Regions from separate parts of the Homo sapiens genome. Here region 2 is linked to region 1. Evidence: promoter capture Hi-C in 16 types of primary human blood cells and fetal thymus (Javierre and others, 2016). All regions are on one chromosome and are shown on one strand. Each heading gives the region's core, a stretch centred on a gene start or on the middle of the fragment in contact. The rest is flanking DNA. Distances are from core to core; before and after follow the strand shown.

Evidence for each region. Contacts are between HindIII fragments. The CHiCAGO score rates a contact against its expected background, and 5 or more counts as called.
Region 2: a fragment that was not itself captured here is called in contact with the fragment with the promoter of PTF1A in region 1 in 1 of 17 cell types (M1 macrophages); the score reaches 7.4 in M1 macrophages.

What each region holds. Positions count from the first base shown.
Region 1 is chr10:23,190,835-23,197,818 of GRCh38, forward strand. It overlaps PTF1A (pancreas associated transcription factor 1a), which reads left to right and starts at 1,478. Exons shown (of 2, transcript NM_178161.3): 1 at 1,478-2,480; 2 at 2,870-3,411. The coding sequence starts at 1,697. The coding sequence ends at 3,072. RefSeq lists an enhancer at 4,367-5,122. The HindIII fragment of the contact is 14,718 bases long and covers 1-6,984 here.
Region 2 is chr10:23,710,602-23,717,424 of GRCh38, forward strand. It overlaps a transcript of KIAA1217 not described here. Among named protein-coding and RNA genes, the nearest start is that of OTUD1, 270 kb to the left of the region's middle. The HindIII fragment of the contact is 263 bases long and covers 5,205-5,467 here.

The DNA.
Region 1 (6,984 bases), core at 228-2,727:
CTTCTAACCTTATATATCTTTTGGTTTAACTCTTTGTTCTCAATTCAGTTAATTACAGTGCAATGTCTAAAACCAAGAAGCGTATTTAAATCACTAATCTGAAGAGGCATGACTTGGAATTTGAGAGGCGTCTGAATACCCAACAGAAGCCTCTAGTGAGACAAGTGCCTGAAAAAGGAAGCGGCCCAGGAGGACGACTCCTTTCAGTCCTCTGTAGAGAGAATACGCACGATGGCTGCGCTTCTGAACTCTCCCGGGGTGGAAGCTGCAGCCTGGCTTTTAACCGGAATTGCCCAGACCTTGAAAGTGTTTCTTTGTTGCTCTTAAAAAGAGGAATTCACGTTGCATCGCAGTCTGTGATAAAGTCTGTCTTGGGGCAGAGCTGCATACGTTTTGTGTTTTTTTTTTTTTTCAGAAAAGAAAGGTCGAGAAAGAAAAAAACAAGTCATTCAGGGATGGTCCCTGTGGCCAGTCGGAAAGGTGAGAGACTCGGGCTTTGAAAACGATTCACATTCTGCCCTTTAACTTCAATGCCTTCCCTCCGGACTGCGCCGGAGCAGACGATTCAATGGACTCCTTTTGTATCCAGTTTATTGCTCAGAATCCCTAGGGTCTAGATTTGCTCTCAGAAGAAACGCGCCCCGCTGAGCTGCTCTGGGGGCTGCCCCTCCCGTCTCCCCATTCCTTTCTCCGGGCCGGGGAGGGCAGGGGAGGCAGCCACTGAGCCGATGTCGCTGGGGACCCGCACCAGGCACCACAGCCAGGCTCCAGAGCGGAGTCCCATAGGTGCGCTCCCAGCCCCCGTGTTGCGTCTGGAACGCAGTGGGAGTGGGCCCGGATCACCTTCCAATGACACCCGCATATACTCTGCAAACTGTGCAAAAGCCCTTGAAAAGTCCAGAGATGGGACAGAAGCCCCCAGCAGAACCCAGGCCGGAGCCCCGCGCACCTCGGATAAGGGGGTGGCGGAATGCACCCACCTGGTCCCTGAGGGCAGCACCCTTAGATTGCCCAGGCTGCCGCGGAGGAGGACGATCGCCGCGCGGGCTCCGCTCTCGCCGTCTGGGCCACCGGCGCGCACCCCTAGGAACTTCTCTGGCCGCGTGTAGACGCGGCGCGCGGCTGCCCCAGTCCCAGGGCGGAAGGAGCCGGCGCTGCTCAGCGCGCGCGGGTACGCAGCGGGCACCGCGGGACGCAGGTGCCCCTGGAGCCGCACGCGGGGCAGGTACAGAATCCAGTATGCAGAGGCAGAGGAGAGGGAAGAGAGCGGTGCGAGGAGCCCCGGGCCGCGCGACCCCGCCTTTTCCTCGCCCCAGGAGCTCCCAAAGGGAGCAAAACGCCCCCCACCCCCGCCCACCGCCGCGCCTCCGGGCCCCCTCGCCGCCGGCACACCGCGCTCTGATTGGCTGGCGCGATGGGTCCCTGGCACGCGCCTATGGATGTTGTTATAAGAATCCTCGCGTGCCGGCCCTCAGCTCCAGGAAGTCCGCCACAGCCCTCCCCAGCGCAGCGCGAGCGCGGGCCAGAGCGCAGCGGCCGCGGGCACTCCAGGGAGGCCCGGGGGCGGGCAGCCCGGCGGCCGCCTAGCTGCCCCCAGCCAGGGCCCCGGGAGGGAGGGGCTCGGACGGGCCTTAGAAACTCACCAAGAACTAACACGCGCAGCCCGGCAGTCCCGCTGCCCACTGCGGCGGCGAGCATGGACGCGGTGTTGCTGGAGCACTTCCCCGGGGGCCTAGACGCCTTTCCTTCTTCGTACTTCGACGAGGACGACTTCTTCACCGACCAGTCTTCACGGGACCCCCTGGAGGACGGCGATGAGCTGCTGGCGGACGAGCAGGCCGAGGTGGAGTTCCTTAGCCACCAGCTCCACGAGTACTGCTACCGCGACGGGGCGTGCCTGCTGCTGCAGCCCGCGCCCCCGGCCGCCCCGCTAGCGCTCGCCCCGCCGTCCTCGGGGGGCCTCGGTGAGCCAGACGACGGCGGCGGCGGCGGCTACTGCTGCGAGACGGGGGCGCCCCCAGGCGGCTTCCCCTACTCGCCCGGCTCGCCGCCCTCGTGCCTGGCCTACCCGTGCGCCGGGGCGGCAGTACTGTCTCCCGGGGCGCGGCTGCGCGGCCTGAGCGGAGCGGCGGCTGCGGCGGCGCGGCGCCGGCGGCGGGTGCGCTCCGAGGCGGAGCTGCAGCAGCTGCGGCAGGCGGCCAACGTGCGCGAGCGGCGGCGCATGCAGTCCATCAACGACGCCTTCGAGGGGCTGCGCTCGCACATCCCCACGCTGCCCTACGAGAAGCGCCTCTCCAAGGTGGACACGCTGCGCCTGGCCATCGGCTACATCAACTTCCTCAGCGAGCTCGTGCAGGCCGACCTGCCCTTGCGCGGCGGTGGCGCGGGCGGCTGCGGGGGGCCGGGCGGCGGCGGGCGCCTGGGCGGGGACAGCCCGGGCAGCCAGGCCCAGAAGGTCATCATCTGCCATCGGGGCACCCGTAAGTGCTTCCGCTTCCCAGCTCAGGGAGAAGGGGTCGGGCACTCGAAGGCTCCGGAGGGGCTGGGGGAGCTGACTGCCAAGCAGACAGTCGGACCGACGGATTGTCGGTGGGCACGGAAAAACTTGAATGCGAGCTCGCGTTTCTCGTTTTTTTTTTTTTTTTTATTTTTCTGCCACGTTGACCGCGGCTCTCAAGGGCGCGCGTCCCCGCCAGACTTGCAGCTCCTCGGATTCCTGGGAGGGGACGGTGGGGACTTGAAGTGTGGAGGAAGAGGGTGGTTCTAGTATAACCGGAGAGCACCCAGGAAAGGGTCCTAAAGGACCTGATGGGACCAATGGGAATGTGGTTGGATATTCACAGTCTGTTTTCTCTTCTCACCTGTCCAGGGTCCCCCTCCCCCAGCGACCCTGATTATGGCCTCCCTCCCCTAGCAGGACACTCTCTCTCATGGACTGATGAAAAACAACTCAAGGAACAAAATATTATCCGAACAGCCAAAGTCTGGACCCCAGAGGACCCCAGAAAACTCAACAGCAAATCTTCCTTCAACAACATAGAAAACGAACCACCATTTGAGTTTGTGTCCTGAGAAGTCCCAGACTCGGCTGAAGATCTGATTATGTCTCTGTGCATATTGTACATGTAAATATCTATAATGTAAATGTAATTTAAGAATCAAATTTTTCGAATGGCAATCAACTGTTTATTATTTATCTATTTATTATCCTGTTGAGTTGATGAAATAGATGATTTCTTTTTAAATATATAATTTATATAACTTATCCTGATTTTCTGAAAATATGCAATAGCCTATGATTTTCCTGAACTCTGTGTTGTTGGGAGAACTCTGGCCAGAAAACGTCCTGCTTATTTATTGCCAGATATGGTTTATTTCTAAGCGTTGTCAATAAATGCTATTTACACCTTTTCCTGAAGGTTTTTGAGTACATGATTTGATAGATACTCTTTAAAAAGAATTAACTTAGTAAAAATTAACCAAACCAGAGACTCAAAGTGTAGCTTTTTAGTAAGAAACTACATTTCAGACTTAGCCTAAAGGTGGGTAGGTTAGAGGATTAGACCTCAACTTTCTATGACAGCACTTCATCTAGGTCGCCTGCCCTACACAGCAACTTTTGTCTGTATTTTGGGCCACCTTCCAAACACCCTATGCAAATACATCCTGGAGTATTTATTGTTCCCATTTTGCAGATGGTAAAGTTAAGGCTCAGAGATGACATTTGACTTACCCAAGGTCACCCCTACGTTGTCTATTCCTGGTGTATAAAAGTGAGCGCGCGGTGCACTGTGGGAGCAGGGAGCTAGTGGGCTAAGCGAATGGGCCTTTCTGCTTCCACTGGCTGGGAAAGGGGCTACTCTTGAGCTGCCCTGTGACCAACCTCTTCGGCAGCAACAGCATCAGGTACCTGGAACTCAGGCTTACTCCTCACAAAGGAGATGGGACAGGCTACGGTGCCAAAGCCTAGAGACCACTCGGAGGCCACTCAACAAAATCCAGGGTCTTTTAGGTAAGGTAGGAAGAAGCCGCCCGCTACCCCTGCCACCTTCGCAACAGGCTTACTTCCAAAACTGAGTTCGTTTTGCCTTCATCAGAACTTGGCCCTCCTCGGCCAGCAACCTGGGGAGAAGGCGAGCCTGAGGCGGGGGGCGTAGGGTAGCCCCCTAGCGAAGGGGAGAAGAGCGAGGGCGCGGCCGAGGTCGCTTAGCCAGAAAGCCTGGGAGTCCAGGCTTGGGTTTGTCTCCTTTGTGGCCAAGAGCGCCTCCCGGGCTCTCGGGGCGTCCTCCCCTGCCCGCCAGAGCCGGGGCGCCGGCACTGGGCCCTGAGGCCTGGCGCGCGCGCAGATGGCGTTGGCGCGAGCGCGGACTGGAGACGCGCTCATTGACGTGGCACCGTAGCCCCGTGCGGCGCAGGCCTGGCCCAGGCGGGGTGTGGTTCCGTGGGCCGCAGCGGCCTGGTGGGCGAAGGTACAATTGCGGATAGCCTCTAATACTCACGGCCCTGCCGCAGGACAATATGTTGGCAGCATGCTAATTGCTTTAACCTAGTTTCAGACCCACCGAGGGGTTCCCCGCGCGCCGCGGGTGCCATGGACCTCGTCCAAGAGCAATTAAAGCGAGGCCGCGAGCCCGACCCCGCAGCGCGGCCTGGCCAGACACGCGGAGATTCTGGGTCGCAAGGCTCCCGGGAGCCCCTTGGCCGTGGACCCTCTCACCCCTTTTAAGCCTTCGCGCCCTCTCCCTCCACTCCTCCTAAAAGAAGATTTCACACTGGAGACAGAATTTCAGAACGAGAGAAAATAATTCGATTTTGTCCTTTATTAGGGCCTCATTAAACACGAAAGTTGCTTTTGCACAAATGCTTCCATCAGGCATGTAATCTCATTACACTCATTAGAAAGTCAAATGTTTGGCCGACTTCAACTTAATTATAAGTTATGGAAGTATTGTACCGTTTTCTTCGGCTGTGTAGACCTGCGTTTCTGTTGGATTGGGCAGTGTGGCACTCGCAGTTAAAACACTGCAATCATTGTGATGTGGCACCTTTTATTTTGCGTGCCACTTTTTTTTGCGATTCAATGCCTCAACACAACCTTTAGTGCGGTGCAGATGAAGCGGAAGAACCGAGCTGAGCATGCAAAACACCAGGGTCTCTATCTTGTCACTCTCTGTCCTGACTTGGCAAGTCCCTTTAAGCACAACCTTCAAAGAGACTGACAGCTTCTTTTTATTTACTCATAATCCATTCATTCTAGTGTAGCAATTCTTTTTTTTAAAAAAAATGCAGCAGTAAAGGCAGAACAAACGTATCATTTCAGAGTCTTCTTTGGCGTCAGGGAGGCCCGAGCTGCGCTGGGTGCAGGGGCTGCTCTCCTTGTGGCAGAGCCAGGCTGGGGAGCCTCTGGCCCTGGGCATCTCTGGCCGGCAAACACGGCCTGGCACTGGAAGGATCATGTGAGGGCAGTTTGAGTGACAGGTATTCAATGGTCCTTCTAAGTCCACACTTCTCGTCCAACTTTTAAAAAAGATGCATATGAAGATAATTGAGTAAGCCAAACTCCTGGATGGCTATGGAGAATCTTTGCCCAGCCCGGCCCTTCTGAACACCCATCATCCCCTGCACTGAAACCCAGCCTGGGACCACCAGGGGAAAGAGTTTAAAGTCTGCCCTGGCTGCCCTTGTCCATTTAGCATAATAAAGAAGCTGCAAGCCCAGTACAGGCTGAATTTTATGATCTCTATTGGAGAGCTGGTTAAATCATTCTCCACTGGTCCAGACTCCACTGCTAGCCATGGTCGGGGGAGGGAGCCCTGGAGTGGGCTTGATAAAGTCTTTGGAGAACAGAGGTGGCCTGGGGTGCTGCCTCTTCCTCTCCCCCAACATCTCACCCCCTCCTGCCAAACACACATCCTCAATTCTAGCCCATCTTGCTGGTCTCCATCCCAGGTTGCTGTATCTACCTTCATGGCAAAGTGCCAATGATTTCATTCAATAAAAGCCCCCTGTCCCCAGGCCTCCCTCCCTCTTCAATTTCTGGTGGGCTTTAGTGTTAGGGTCCTCTTGTGATTGTCTTAAAAGACATTGCATGTCAGAAGGAAGGTGGCTTTCTATTTTCAGAAGCTACAAAGCGGAGGCACCATTCCCATTCCTGTTCTCCCCTCCACCCCCTTCTAAAGAGAACTTTAGATTAGGAGGTGAGGTGCGAGTGGTGGGGTGACTCCAGAAGAGCAGAGGAGGAGAGAGGCAAAAAAAGGAGAAGCAGCCACTTCTGCACCTGGAGCTGGGCAGCCTCTGGAATGGAGCCCTCTTGTGATGCCTCCTCCTTCCCATGAAGGAGGCACTGTGGGTTAGTTAACACTCTCATAAAAAGTTGCATTCTGGAGCCTGGAAGTCCTGTAAGGCAGAAAAAGTGGGTGGGAAAGAAGGGGGTCCCCCCACCCCAGGCTGGGAGCAGAGCGCATAAAAGGCCTTGTTGGAACTCCTGTGAAATCGGCTGAGAATGCTTCCCAGGACCGCTCATCTGCCAGCCCCAGGATTAACGCCCCTCCGTGGAGAGGGTGTGAAGCCTCTTAAATCCATAAACTCATCCCATTTCCATTAATGGGCCTTTGCGGTGGCACCGAGTACCAGCTGCGAGGTTGAACAAACACCAGTTGAGTACTCCCTGGCGGACCTCTCTGGGAAGAGCCCTCACCCTCCCTCTCGCCCTCACCCTCCCTCTCACAGCCTTTCCAAAGCCTTCTGCAGCCTGTGGGAATGGTCCTAAATAATTCCACAACCAATTGCATTTTTGAGATCTGGAACCACTGGTAGGAAACGATTCCCACGACGGGATGTGAGGTCTGGCCAACAGGTGTTCGGATTTGGCCCAGGGAGATGGGGAAACCCAGGGAGAGAGACAGGGCTGCCAGAAAGCAGGCTGCTTAGGGGCCTCTCGGCTTTACAGGCCGTGGAAGCCACAGACAATCGAAATGATATCTT
Region 2 (6,823 bases), core at 4,086-6,585, 520 kb after region 1:
TGGGTGTTCTATTTGGTGTCAAGTGTTGAAAGTATTTTTGGAAAATTCATTATATTTTGGAGACAGTTCAAGTTGTGTTGAACTTTTACTCAAATAAAGATTTATATAGCTGTGCCTTGATTTTGAAAAATTTGTTTTATCAAAATCTGAATTGCAGAATAGATACATCAGAAACAAATGCCATTACAAAATAATCTCCAGGTAGCTCATCAAATACCTATGGAATGGGTACAATGAGTATAGGGAACCGGGTCACCATCTATCCTTCTTATTCTCTAGGGTCTGATCAATAAAGCAAACCAATGAAGCAAGATTGCTAGCCAGATAGAAAATGAAAAGAGTGATTTTGCTTTGTAGAGTCCTCTGTGCACATCCTTGTAAAATCTATATTAAAATATTTGCTTTAGGCTTCATCAAAAGTGAGACTATTGACTCTTACTCTTTATCTAGATGTGAGCACCACAAGCTCAGATGTGCATACAGAAGGAGTGAGGCACCAGATCTTCTGGGCCATCCCCAATACCGTGTGCTTGAATATGGATGAGGCTGGCAGGTTGGTTCCAGAAAGAAGACATTATAGGTGGAATGATGTTCCCTTAACCCCAGAAGATGTCCACATTCTAATTCCTAAAAGCTGTGGCTATTTTACCTCCGAAAGCAAAAGAGACTTTGCAGATGGGATTCTATTAAGAATCTTGAGATGGGGTTGATCAATGCCTTTGATTATCTAGGTGAGCCAATATAATCACAAGGGTCCTTACAAGAGGGAGGCAAGAGGGTCACAGAAGATGTGATGATGTAAGCAGAGGTCAAAGTGATCCACAGGCCAAGGAATTTGAGCAGCCTCCAGGAGACAGAACAGGCAAGAAACTAGAGTCTCTTGGCAGACAGCGTGGTTTTGGTCCATTGAGATTTCTGACCTATAGAACTCTAATGTAGTAAATTTGTGTTCTTTTGAGCTAGTAAGTGTGTGATTTCTTACAGCAGCAATAGGAAATTACTGTAGAAGGTTTGGGGACCTGCACAGATGTGCTTATTACAAGGGAACAAGATACAAAGGAGAACCTTCTGGGTGTCATCACAGAAAGTGAAGGACAAAGTAACCCTGTTCACCAGGAAAGCATGGTCCAGTTCATGTCAAGCTTCAACAGATGAAATCAACCACCTTCCTCTCCTGGGGAAGACGAGTGAGAGAAACAGAAGCTAATTAAGGTGTCTTAGTGGAGAGAAGTTTAACTCCAGGAATTAGAGGCTCACACAACCCTTGAAGGATGGGAAACGAAGCCTGATATGATCACTTTCAGGAAATCTAAAATGTGGGAATCGCAGAGAAACATGCTCCCTAAGTGAGTCACAGGAGGATGCCAAAGTCTATAGTCCAGACTCCACTTCTGTTGCCTGTCTGCAGACATTGTCAGAGAATGACCTTCACCTTCCAAATCTCATGTGAGACATTCTCAATGGTGGACTCTTCTAGTGACCCCACAGGCAAGGAAGAAATGTAGTTTCTAGGCTTCACCCCTCTAAAAGTCAAGGGCCAAACTGTACAGGGTATCAAAATACCTGGCACAGAGGTGAAGAGAAAATTATGGTAGAAGTTTGCTTCTCTGCAGTTTGAGGGTGGAAGGTAGAAAGAGGAACATAAGCATCTCTCCTTACATCCCTAGCCCTATGCTCCCCTCACCTGCATTCCCCTCACCAATAACTTAGAGTTTGCCAAGACTGGGAGATGGTCTTAGAAATGGAGAAATAACTCAGTATGATAGTCAGCAGCAAGCCAAGATGTTCATTGACTTGGCTACCATTATAAGCCAAGTCAATGAACATCTTGGCAAACTCTGAGTTATTGCAGAGCAGTGCAGTCAACTCAGTACAGAAAAGATAGGAGACAGATGGGAAATTGAATATTCGTGGATACGTTTTAGGTGATTGTGCTGTAATTTAACTATAACTTACCAGGTATCTATTTTGAACCTGCTTTATTTCAAGGGCACTTTTTTTTAAGCTTTTGACAAATAATTTAAGCCAAATTAATATTCATTGCAAATGTCAGGAGCAGTTGAGTTTTCTTTTCATAGAGCCTTTGAACCTGTTTATGGGAAAGATCAAGTGTTATCATGCCATTAGTTCTACTTTTTAATACAGGATAAAGTTGTACATGTCACTGTTATCTAATTACTAATAGCTATAAATACCAGTTAATTAAATAATGCAGGAATAGAATAAATTTACTATGCCGTGTTTCTTATTGCTCTCAATCAAGTATTTTTAGAAGATTTTCATATTACCTCTTTTCAGTTTTAATTGCCTCTTAAGAAGACAGAATTGCTTCTGGTATACCTGAAGCAGCCAAGGGGGTGGAGTTGTTAACATGTAATGCGGCTTGCAGGCATTTGGTTCAGTGTGGAGTCTCAGAGGGTGAAAGTGTAGAATGCCAGATCAAGGTTTCAAGCCATGAACTAAGAGTATGGAAAAGAGCTGGGGAGGAGTATGTTGTAGATGAATTGAGGTATTAGAAAATAGGAGTGCAGGTTGCAGATTACTAGGAAGCCACTGAATAGAACTGTTTGAAGCTATCGTACCTGCTCAGTAGCCAGGATGACTTTTTCAGGCCCATTCAGAGTAGGTTTTGGTTTGGTAACACTGTTTTTGCTTGACTTTTTGCTGCTAACTATCATACTGAGTTATTTCTCCATTTCTAAGACCGTAAGGCCAATATCAAGAGCTATTGCTTTCAGCTCCTAGTTACTAATCATTTCAGTTTTATCATCAGAGATTTTGTTTTTTTACTTCCAATGGATTAGTTCAGTTTCTACCTAGGCAGACTATCATGGACCAAAATGTTCTTCTCTAAAAATGCATGTTAGAAAATATTATCATGGTCCTTTTGGTGTTTAACAGCTTCTTTGGAATAATAATTTAAATTGTGTTGACCACTCTACACATCATATTTTCAGTTAATATAGAAGTTATGCTCTAAAATAGTCAGTTTCTAAGGTTTGGTTTAATTTCTTTGTGTCTTAGGAGCCTATGTTGATTTGAATGGTGATATTAATATCATTATTAGCTATCCTTACATAAGACCACCCAATAAAACTTTTTGGTATCTGTAATAAAGTTTGACTTTAATTTTTGCCAAAATATGTGATGTAATTCTGGAGTTGAAGACATCCTAAAAAAGAGTCAACTTAGATTACTGTATGCCCCAGCAAAATAATGCCTCATGATCACCTATTTCCACCTCTAGACAATTTCATTTATAACCTTGACTTCAAACCTAATTCACATCTGCTTAGCTCAGAACTTTCTTCTGAATTCAAACTTGCTTATACACTTTTCATTTTAGGTACCCCATCCAGCTGTTTCATAGGCACCTCACCTTTAATATGTGCAAATCTGAAATTATTAGTCTTTTTTCATTCCACCAGAACTTCTCTGCCTTCTATATTTCCTGGCAAAGGGATTGATGCCAGCTAGTCGTCCAAGTTCAGGATCTGAACATATCCTAGACTTCTACCTTTTCTCCATATCCAATCAGTTGCTAAGACCAACCTTCTAAATACATATTTCCCCTTCCCCGCTATCCTGTTTGTTATTATATTGCTGAAGCGTTCATGATGTTTCAGCTGGAACTATTGCAATAACTTGCTTACTAACCATTGTCTTAGGGCAGCTTCCACAGAAATCAAACCCTAAGAGGAATTTTTGTGCACAAGTAATTTATGAAGAAATTGCTCCCAGGATAGACTCCTGGAAAGTGAGGGAAAGTAGAACAGGGGAGGAAGAGAAGCCAAGCAAGGATGAGAACTTGGGCAAATTTCTGCAGAGGGTAGCTTCCATCATATCCTGCAGCCAGGGCGACACTAAGACTTTGGTAGAGTCCTTCCTCAATCAATCAATTGCAACTTGGACTTTCCTGAATACGCTATGCTGCCTCAAGATTCCTGCCTTTTCACCTGCTGGTCCACTGGCCTGAAATATTCTTCTTCTTTGGTTCCCTCCTCACTTGACCTCTGGACTAAAGATGACTACAAAGTTTTTTTCCTGCTCTCCCTTTGTGACTGTTCCAAGAAGTCTTGAGGTCGTTTTTCTATTCTGTTTTGTGAAAAGGCCATATTTGCGAAGGGAACCCCAAATACAAAAGGAGCTGAGAAACCAAAGGGTAGGGCAAACAAATCCAGTTTGTCAATAGAGGGTGGTTTATTGGGGAACTCATGGGCAGAAGCATGGTCTTGGGCAGTCATAAGACAGGTAGATCTCCTCACCATTACCCCAAGACCCAGAGCTTATATACCATAGAAAAAGGGTATATGTGCTTTAGCTCTAGAGGGAATGTGCAGGACAATTAAAGTTGACCCTTCATGGAAAGACAAGAACGCTATGTGCATCATAGCCTATAATTTGCCAAAGGGCAGGATATATGGTAAGTATGTGTTTATGATGATAACATCGAGATTGTACTGGTTTACAAAAGGAACAGTAAATAAGGCAGAAATATTAGAGGCACTCCTGGGATTGGGGTTAATCTGAAGTCAAAATGGCGGATTAGCATTCAAGATGGAGTTACTTTAGCCTCCTCTTACTCCATGGTGAGCTTCTCCTGGGCTGCCATAGCTCTGTGTATTGACTTGGTTATTTTATTTCATTGCAACTGTTATTTGCATGATTACCTTTCCCTAGTGGGGGATGGAAGAGACAAAATCTTTTCATTTTTATCCCTTTGGTGTTTAGCCCAACACTTGTTAAGCCAATGAAGGAAGTAAAGAAGTGAAAAAAATTGATGAAAGGACTGTGATTCCAGTTATGCGTATTAGATCATAAATAGTTTCTGAGGAGCTTGAGATTCCATTAGAATATGTGATGTAAGTAAAACTTATTTTGGCTTATTACCTTTTTACTATTGAGTATGATGAGACCTCATGGTAAAAGTTGTATCAATTTTAGAGTCTCTTTGATGTAGCTATAAGATTTTACATTTCTTTTATGACTCACCATGTAAAGTTTCAAATATGTACTAGAGAGATTTAAAATGAGCATGAAGTGATGACTAACATGTAAATTTGAGAATTTCAGTGTTAAAATGATAGATTTGTTTTCTCATCTACAAATATTATATTTTTAAATATTAGGTAGAACTGATTCTAAAGGAAGTAATCACATTACCCATATTTTAAAAATTAAACTTGCCCGTGAAAGAAAAGCAAAGCTTACATGACACTTTAACTTTTACAACATTTTATTTAAAAGATAAATGTCATTACTCAGTTCACTAAAATGACCTTTAAAAGCCATGATCTTTAAAAAAGAAATAGTTTTCTTTTAAAGGGAAACACATTGCACCAATTTGCAAGTTAATGGTCGAATTTTTGCCTTAACAGTGATGAGAAAGCAGAAATTGAGGCACAAATGATACAAATAGCATGTTTCAGTCTTGAAAGGCAATATTATTCCTTTTATTCCTTAAATAAGCTTTTACGGAAGCGTTCTGACTAACGCTGCATGCAAGAGATTTACGTACATACTTCCATGAGATGAGGATGTGTCATTAAAATATATGAACATAATAGATGTTGTGCACACAATATGAAACAAAACTATGCTTAGGGCATCTGGAAAGTTTCTCTTTATGAAATAAATGAACAATAGCTTTATTTAAATCTATCTAAAACCAAGCTCTGATTTACATATAGGGCTTAATTTGGATCATTGAATTTCCTTTGCATTGGTTTCTTATGCATACATTTTGTAGTAATTTTAAATATGTAAACTCATCAGCATAGTTTGTGTGTGTATCTGTATTCTAGGGGATCCTTTAGGCTAAATAAATGCAATATGTGAAAGTTTTAAATCACCAATTATTAATTAAGACATAAATTTCCTATATACAGTCATACCTACCTGCATTTACAGTGTGAACCTGCTTTGTCTTTCCTTGAATAAAATTAAAGTGATTGGATCTTTCCAAGTATCATATTTACAACCAACTTCTCCCTCTGGAGGCTCCCTCCCTTCCCCACCTCCAGCCTGGACTGAACACACAGAAGACTGGGTGTGATTTTATGATATAAATCAATGGAAAAGCTGGTCCACCTTACTAGGAGCAGCTTTTTAGATCAGCCTCTATTGTGCATATTCAAATATATTTATATGCATGTAACAACAAAAAAACATTCTTGTGGCTTTGTTTATTAAAGATTTCTTTCTGGACAAATAGATTTTGAATTATTGCTTTATAAAGTAGACCCCAATTTACTACATCACGTTTTTTCTTTGTCATCATCTATTGTTCTTTTGGATCCTAATTATTCATTTTTCTCATGTTTTAAACTTCTTATATACAAGGCTTATTTATACTTGTCACTCTCCCATGCCTGTCATAGTCTATATTTATATTTCACTTATTTTAAGAAAATGCACAGAAATCCATGTTAAACAACTAACCACACAAAAACTACATTCTCCTTCAAGATTAAACCCCTGCCTTACTTTGCCCCTTCTCTTCCCAGCCTGTCTTTTTGAAAGAGTTACCTGCTTTACTATCTTTACGTCTTCACCTTTTTGTCATCTCTAGGTTTCCGTGAACTTAAAATGCTTCCTGGTATTAAGAACTACTTGGTTGTCCCCTGTGCTTATGTATTTTTAAATGAAATAGGTTGAATTCCGCTTTTAGATTTTTTTTTTGCTCTGAATTAAGCTCATAGCGGGACTTATTAAAATGCAATTGCTAATAAGAGCTAATAATTACTGAGCACGTACTATAGTCCAGGCAGCATGCTAAACTCTACCTGGATTGTCTAATTTATGCATCACTATCACACTATGA